Linked DNA regions of Homo sapiens: region 2 is linked to region 1. The links are contacts of gene promoters, found by promoter capture Hi-C in blood cells and fetal thymus (Javierre and others, 2016). All regions are on one chromosome and are shown on one strand. Each heading gives the region's core, a stretch centred on a gene start or on the middle of the fragment in contact. The rest is flanking DNA. Distances are from core to core; before and after follow the strand shown.

Region 1 (3,126 bases), core at 174-2,673:
TGGAGTACAGTGGCGCAATCTCGGCTCACTACAACATCTGCCTCCCAGGTTCAAGCAATTCTCCTGCCTTAGCCTCCTAAGTAGCTCCTAAGTACAGGCGCCCACCACCACGCCTGGCAAATTTTTGTATTTTTAGTAGAGACGGAGTTTCCCCATGTTGGCCAGGCTGTTTTCGAACTCCTGACCTCAAGTGACCCTCCTGCCTTGGCCTTTCAAAGTGCTGGAATTACAGGCTTGAGCCACCATGCCCGGCCTCATTTTTGTACTTTTTGTAGACATTAGGTTTTGCTAGTCTCAAACTCCTGAGCTCAAGTGATCCACCCACCTCAGTCTCCCAAAACCCTGGATTATAGGTGTGAGCCACCGCTCCAGGCACATTTTTGTCTTTTAATGACTCAGCATTTCTCAAATTTTCAATGACAACATCCCTGTGAGGTGCTATTATCAGGCCCACCTAAGAGATGGGGAGGGGCGACAGGCTGCCAAAGGTGAGGCCACACGCCCAGGCACGCGTAGCACTGTGGGTCTGTCCTGCCGTGGGCCCTACCTCTCACTCACCCACCACCATGATGTTGAACTCAAACCCCATCTTCATAGCCTTGATCTTCAGCTGGTCCAGCACAGCCTCAATGCCCACAGGACCAAGCATCTCGCAGGGTGGGGTGCTGGGGCTGGAGGGCTGCGAGGACAGGCAGGGAGAGGGGGAGCGCCTCAGGGGGTCCATGGGGGCCAAGGGTTCGAGATGCCTGTCACCAGGTGGGTGGGGAGAAGGGGGTCACTGGGGCTCAGAGGAGCCCACATTGACCTCTCCTATCTGAACCCCTATTTGAGCTTGGCCGTTGGCCAACCCCCTCCACACTTCATGCCTCTGGTGTACCCTAAGTGCCTGTAGTCCCAGGGGTGTGGCAAGGGTGCCTGTGGGGAGCTGTTTCTGCAGGGTGCCTCAACACCCATCCAGAGAGGCTCCGCTGCCCAAGGGTCTGCCCTGTCCCCACCTACAGCCCAGGCAGGGGCCTCTCAGGTCGCTTCCCCCAGCAGAGCCTGGAGGGCCAGGCAAAGTCCAGGATGGGTGTTTGCAGCCAGGCTGGAGTCCTGGAGGGGCTTCAGGGAGTGTGTATGGGGTGAAGTGGCTCCCGTCCCAGCAGGAAACTTGGGCAGGGGGCTCAGGAGGAGGTGCCCCCACTTTCCCCAGGGGGACACACAGCAGAGTTGATAGAGAGCGAGAAAGACGGCACAGGCATGAAGGTGACGGAGACAGAGAGAGAGAGACCAAGGTCAGGCAGGGAAGATGGCTGGGAGGGAGCGGTGCGAAGAGCCCACGGGGGGCAGAGAGAGAGAGAAGCAGCCTGCTGTGACACCTGGTGGACGTGGGTCCTGGTGGAGCTTCCAGGAGCTGCCTTGTCCTGGCAGGGCCTGGTGTGTGTGATGGGGGAGGGGAGAGGGTGACAGTTAACCGAAGAATCTGAGCTCCATCTGCACTTGCTGTGACCCCCACCTGGAGGCTTCTCTGCAGCAGGAGCAGGAGCTGTTACCCTTCTAATCCCCACAATGACCCCAGCCTAATAATACAATAATCCCCAAGTAGAACCAGGGGCCCAAGGCCCCCTCGTCAGCTGGGCTCCCACCTCCAAGCTGACGCCCTCAACCACTCTGCTGGGGTGAGCAAACCCAGGCCCCACAGCTGGCTAGCGGGATATCCGTGTCCACGATTGGCGCCATGTGTTTTAAGTTGCAGCGTCAAAAACATGAAGAGATTGCTTTAGCAAATATTTACCCAGTCCTGACTCTGCACATGGCATCGTTCTAGGAGCCCAAAGATGTTAACTTGTTTAATAATCAAGCCCTGTGAAGTAAGTGCTGTTACTACCCCAAGCTGATAGATAAGAGAGGGTCAGGTGAGGAGGTGGCAGAGTCTCTGCCGCTCTGAGTCTGTGTGCTCACCCTCTACTGCCTTTTTCTGGTTTACAGAAACATCTAGATTTCCGGTGTATCTTAGAGGTTATCACCCTGACTTGAGATGCCCTCTTTAAATAGGCCATGTGCTTTCCAGACTGTGGTCCTCACCCCTGCCTTACTGTCTCTCTGATAAGCTGTTTCTTTTTTTGTTGTTTGTTTTTGAGACAGCCTCGCTCTGTTGCCCTTGCTGGAATGCAGTGGCGCGATCTCGGCTCACTGCAACCTCCGCCTCCTGGGTTCAAGCAATTCTCTTGCCTCAGCCTCCCAAGTAGCTGGATTACCGGTGTGCACCACCACGCTAATTTTGTATTTTTAGTAGAGAAGGGGTTTCACCACATTGGTCAGGCTAGTCACAAGCTTCTGACCTCAAGTGATCCACCAACCCTGGTCTCCCAAAGTGTTGGGATTAGTGAGCCACCATGCCTGGCCTTTTTTTTTCTTTTTTCCTTTTTTTCTTTTTTTTTTTGAGACGGAGTCTCGCTCTGTCACCCAGGCTGGAGTTTAGTGGCATGATCTCGGCTCACTGTAAGCTCTGCCTCCCGGGTTCACGCCGCTCTCCTGCCTCAGCCTCCCGAGTAGCTGGGACTACAGGCGCCTGCCACCACGCCCGGCTAATTTTTTCCTATTTTTAGTAGAGACTGGTTTTCCCTGTGTTAGCCAGGATGGTCTCGATCTCCTGATCTCGTGATCTGCCCTCCTCGGCCTCCCAAAGTGCTGGGATTACAGGCGTTAGCCCCTGCGCCCAGCCCTTTTTAAAATTTTTTTGAGACACGGTCTCACTATGTTGCCCATGCTGGTCTCAAACTCCTGGGTTCTAGTGATCCTCTCACCTCAGCCTCCCTAAATGCTGAGATTACAGACGTGAACCACCATGCCCAGCCTGATAAGCTGTTTCTTATACCAAGTCCATCTCACACAGTTAATTCTTTCTTGTTTCCTGGTACTTGACTTCACAAGGCTTAGGCATTCCTGTGTCCTTGCTATTGGCAAATGTTTTCTCTTTCTTTTTTCTTTCTTTTCTCCTTTCTTTTCTTTCTTTTTTTTTTTTCTTTTTTGGGACAGGGTCTCACTTTGTCACCCAAGTTGGAGTGCAGAGGCACAATGACAGCTCACTGCAGCCTCGACTTCCTGGGTTCAAGTGATCCTCCTGCCCCAGCCTCCCTAGTAGCT
Region 2 (3,126 bases), core at 247-2,746, 46 kb after region 1:
ACTTTGCAATAGGCCTTGCCATTTCTTTCAAAACATGCTATCAACCATCTCAGAGTCTTATGTCTAAAGTATATTTTCTTGAAACAAGTCAAGCAGAACAACCATCACCACCACTGCAGCAACCACAAATCAAGTTCCTCCAGTGAAAGCACTGTGTTGCAGATTATTTATTTCCACAATCGTCTATCAGCCTCCAATGCCCAACCACATATACGCTGCCACTTGCTCAGGGCAGAAAGAAATCTGGAGACCCTTTCCCATTCTCACCAGGCAGCACAAATGGCCACACACAGATCCCTGGGAATCAGGGTACCTGGAAATGTGATAGATGATAGCAGCATTACTATGCAGGAAAATGCCTGCTGCCTGTCAACAATGGGAACCAGATTTATGATCTGTTGATCCACAGAGAGTCAGGGATGTTACAGAGCTGAAGAAATGCAACATCTTCTAAAATTTGTGGTTCCTATGGATATTCACAGCCACTGAGCCTATATTTGTTCATAAATGATGGTAACCATGGCTACTAAACCACACAAAACACGGAACACATGGTTTGGAATAAGGGCAGCAGTTACAAAAGGAGGCATTTAAAAACAAGATGGCATGCTGTTTTATGATGTCTCAAAAAAAAAAAAAAATAGAAACAAGATGCTTGAGATTAAAGGTAGAAGAACATACACCTCCGATATGTAATTTTTAATTTCAACCATCAATGTGTAACACATGAAAGTGAAAGTAGTCAGCTGTCAATTCTGGGGTTTCTGATCTGTCACACTAACCTGAACAAATCTGCTGCAGCTGGCTTTCTATGGCTTCCCTGAATGGCATGCAGCTTATAGAATCCAAGCACAAAATAATTTTATAGGCTTTACAAGGTATCAGTTAGTTTACATGTTTTAGCCTGTGATACAGGTTTCACAGCATAACCTTCAGAAAAAGTAGGTCAGGTTAAGGATACAGAAACCCAGCTATCTCACAAGCTTCAGGTTGTTTTCTTCATAGAAAGCTAGAGAATATTCACTAACAGCAAGTGTTAACCTTTGCACATAAAAATAATGTTACTAACCCTCCACCAGCTACCTGGACTTTGAGTGTGCTGCTGGTAGTTGTGATAATGGGGTCTGTGCAAAAACACAGACCTGGGATCATCGGCCTGCAGATGTCAGGCAGCGAACCACTATCAGGCATGCCACCATGGCTAAGTGAGATGATGAATGGAGATACAGAAGCTGGTCTCCCTGGCACAGCTCCAACTAGAGGAGTTAGGCAAATTCCTTTTTTTTTTTTTTTTTTTTTTGAGACGGAGTTTCACTCTTGTTGCCCAGGCTGGAGTGCAATGGGGCGATGTTGGCTCACGGCAACCTCGCCTCCTAGGTTCAAGTGATTCTCCTGCCTCAGCCTCCCAAGTGCTGGGATTACAGGCGTGAGCCACCACACCTGGCCTTTTTTTTTTCCTTTTTGAGACAGAGTCTCATTTTGTCACCTAGGATGAAGTGCAGTGGCACGATCTTAGCTAACTGCGACCTCCGCCTCCACCTCCCAGGTTCAAGCAATTCTGCCTCTATCTCCCGAGTTGCTGGGACTACAGGTATGCACCACCACACCCAGCTAATTTTTATGTTTCTAGTAGAGACGGGGTTTCCCTGTGTTGGCCAGGCTGGTCTTGAACTTCTGGCCTCCAGTGATCCACCTGCCTTGGCCTCCCAAAGTGCTGGGATTACAGGTGTGAGCCAGCAAACTCCTTTCCAGTGACCAACTCATCTTAAAGTTTGAAATTCAACATGAGAGCGCCAATGAGTCCAATCTGCTGGGAGGAAAAGTGGAAGGAGATTTCGACCCCAGATTTTCTGGCAAGAATATCCCTGAACTGACTCCGTTCCCTCTCCTTACAGGGATGCTAATGACAGGCCAGAGCAATCAGATGCAAAGTCAGACCCAGCCCCAAAAGCCAGTGAAGCTACCATACTAACCCGTGGGTCTGAGATGACACAACCAGTATCAAGGATGAAGCTTAAGGAGTCGTGACCAGCCAGTTCTTCCTAGGAGCTTCTGGTCAGAAGCTGAGAACCACACAAGTTCCCAATATAGGACCAAAAAGGTGATTTTTATGGAACCCCTTGAGATGGGACAACAGACTCCGAGACTTGCTAATCCCACCCACGCCATCCTGCTACCTCCATCCCTGCCTCCCACTACCCAGCCTCACAGGAACCCGATTCTGAGGGAACAGAAAGGTGAGGATGTCTGTGAAGTGCCAAGGAATCAACCCCATTTTTTGTTGAAGCATCTTACAAGGTTTACTGATTTCTGCTAGAAGGAACTGTACAGTCAAAATTCCACTCACTTTAAAGCATTTGAGATACTAAAATTTTCCTCTTTACAACCATCTTCGAAACATTAAAATGGCTAAATGAACTGACAGTATGAATAGGATGGTAAATCCAAGAAATGTTAATCTATTTAAGGAATCAACTTATTGCTGGAGAAGCATCCTGTTACATCAAAAAACAGCCATAAAAAACCAGCTTGGCTGGGCACGGTGGCTCACACCTGTAATCCTAGCACTTTGGGAGGCCGAGGCAGGCAGATCACCTGAGGTTAGGAGTTTGAGACCAGCCTGGCCAACATGGTGAAATCTCGTCTCTACTGAAAATATAAAAATTAGCTGGGTGTAGTGGCACGCAGCTGTAATCCCAGCTACTCGGAAGGCTGAGACAGGAGAAACACTTGAACCCAGGAGGCGGAGGTTGCAGTGAGCCAGTATTGTGCCACTGCACTCCAGCCTGGGCAACAGAGTGAGACTCCACCTCAAAAACAGTAACAACAAAAAAACCCAGCTTACCAGAGCTCTATGGGGATTACCTCTTGAAAGCAAACCAAACTTAAATCACTTTGGCTATCTGAATACAATTTTTTCTCTAAAGGTTACACTTCTTTCATCTTTTTTAAATTTATTTTTTATAGAGATGGGGTTCACCATGTTGCCCAGGTTGGTCTCGAACTCCTGAACTCAAGTAATCTGCCCACTTCAGCCACCCAAAGTGCTGGGATTACAGGTATGAGCCACTGCAACTGGCCTACCTCTGTCTTTTTAATGAGAATATGCTTTTCAGTTGGCGCCTC

The links. The method cuts DNA at HindIII sites, captures the fragments that hold promoters and counts their contacts. A CHiCAGO score of 5 or more calls a contact.
Region 2: a fragment that was not itself captured here is called in contact with the fragment with the promoter of SEPTIN12 in region 1 in 1 of 17 cell types (erythroblasts); the score reaches 5.4 in erythroblasts.

The regions. Positions count from the first base shown.
Region 1 is chr16:4,786,922-4,790,047 of GRCh38, forward strand. SEPTIN12 (septin 12) reads right to left here and starts at 1,424. Exons shown (of 10, transcript NM_144605.5): 1 at 1,359-1,424; 2 at 559-746. The coding sequence starts at 724. It also overlaps a transcript of SMIM22 not described here. The HindIII fragment of the contact is 19,587 bases long and covers 1-2,311 here.
Region 2 is chr16:4,833,018-4,836,143 of GRCh38, forward strand. All of the region lies in intron 3 of GLYR1 (glyoxylate reductase 1 homolog), which reads right to left. Among named protein-coding and RNA genes, the nearest start is that of GLYR1, 13 kb to the right of the region's middle. The HindIII fragment of the contact is 1,030 bases long and covers 982-2,011 here.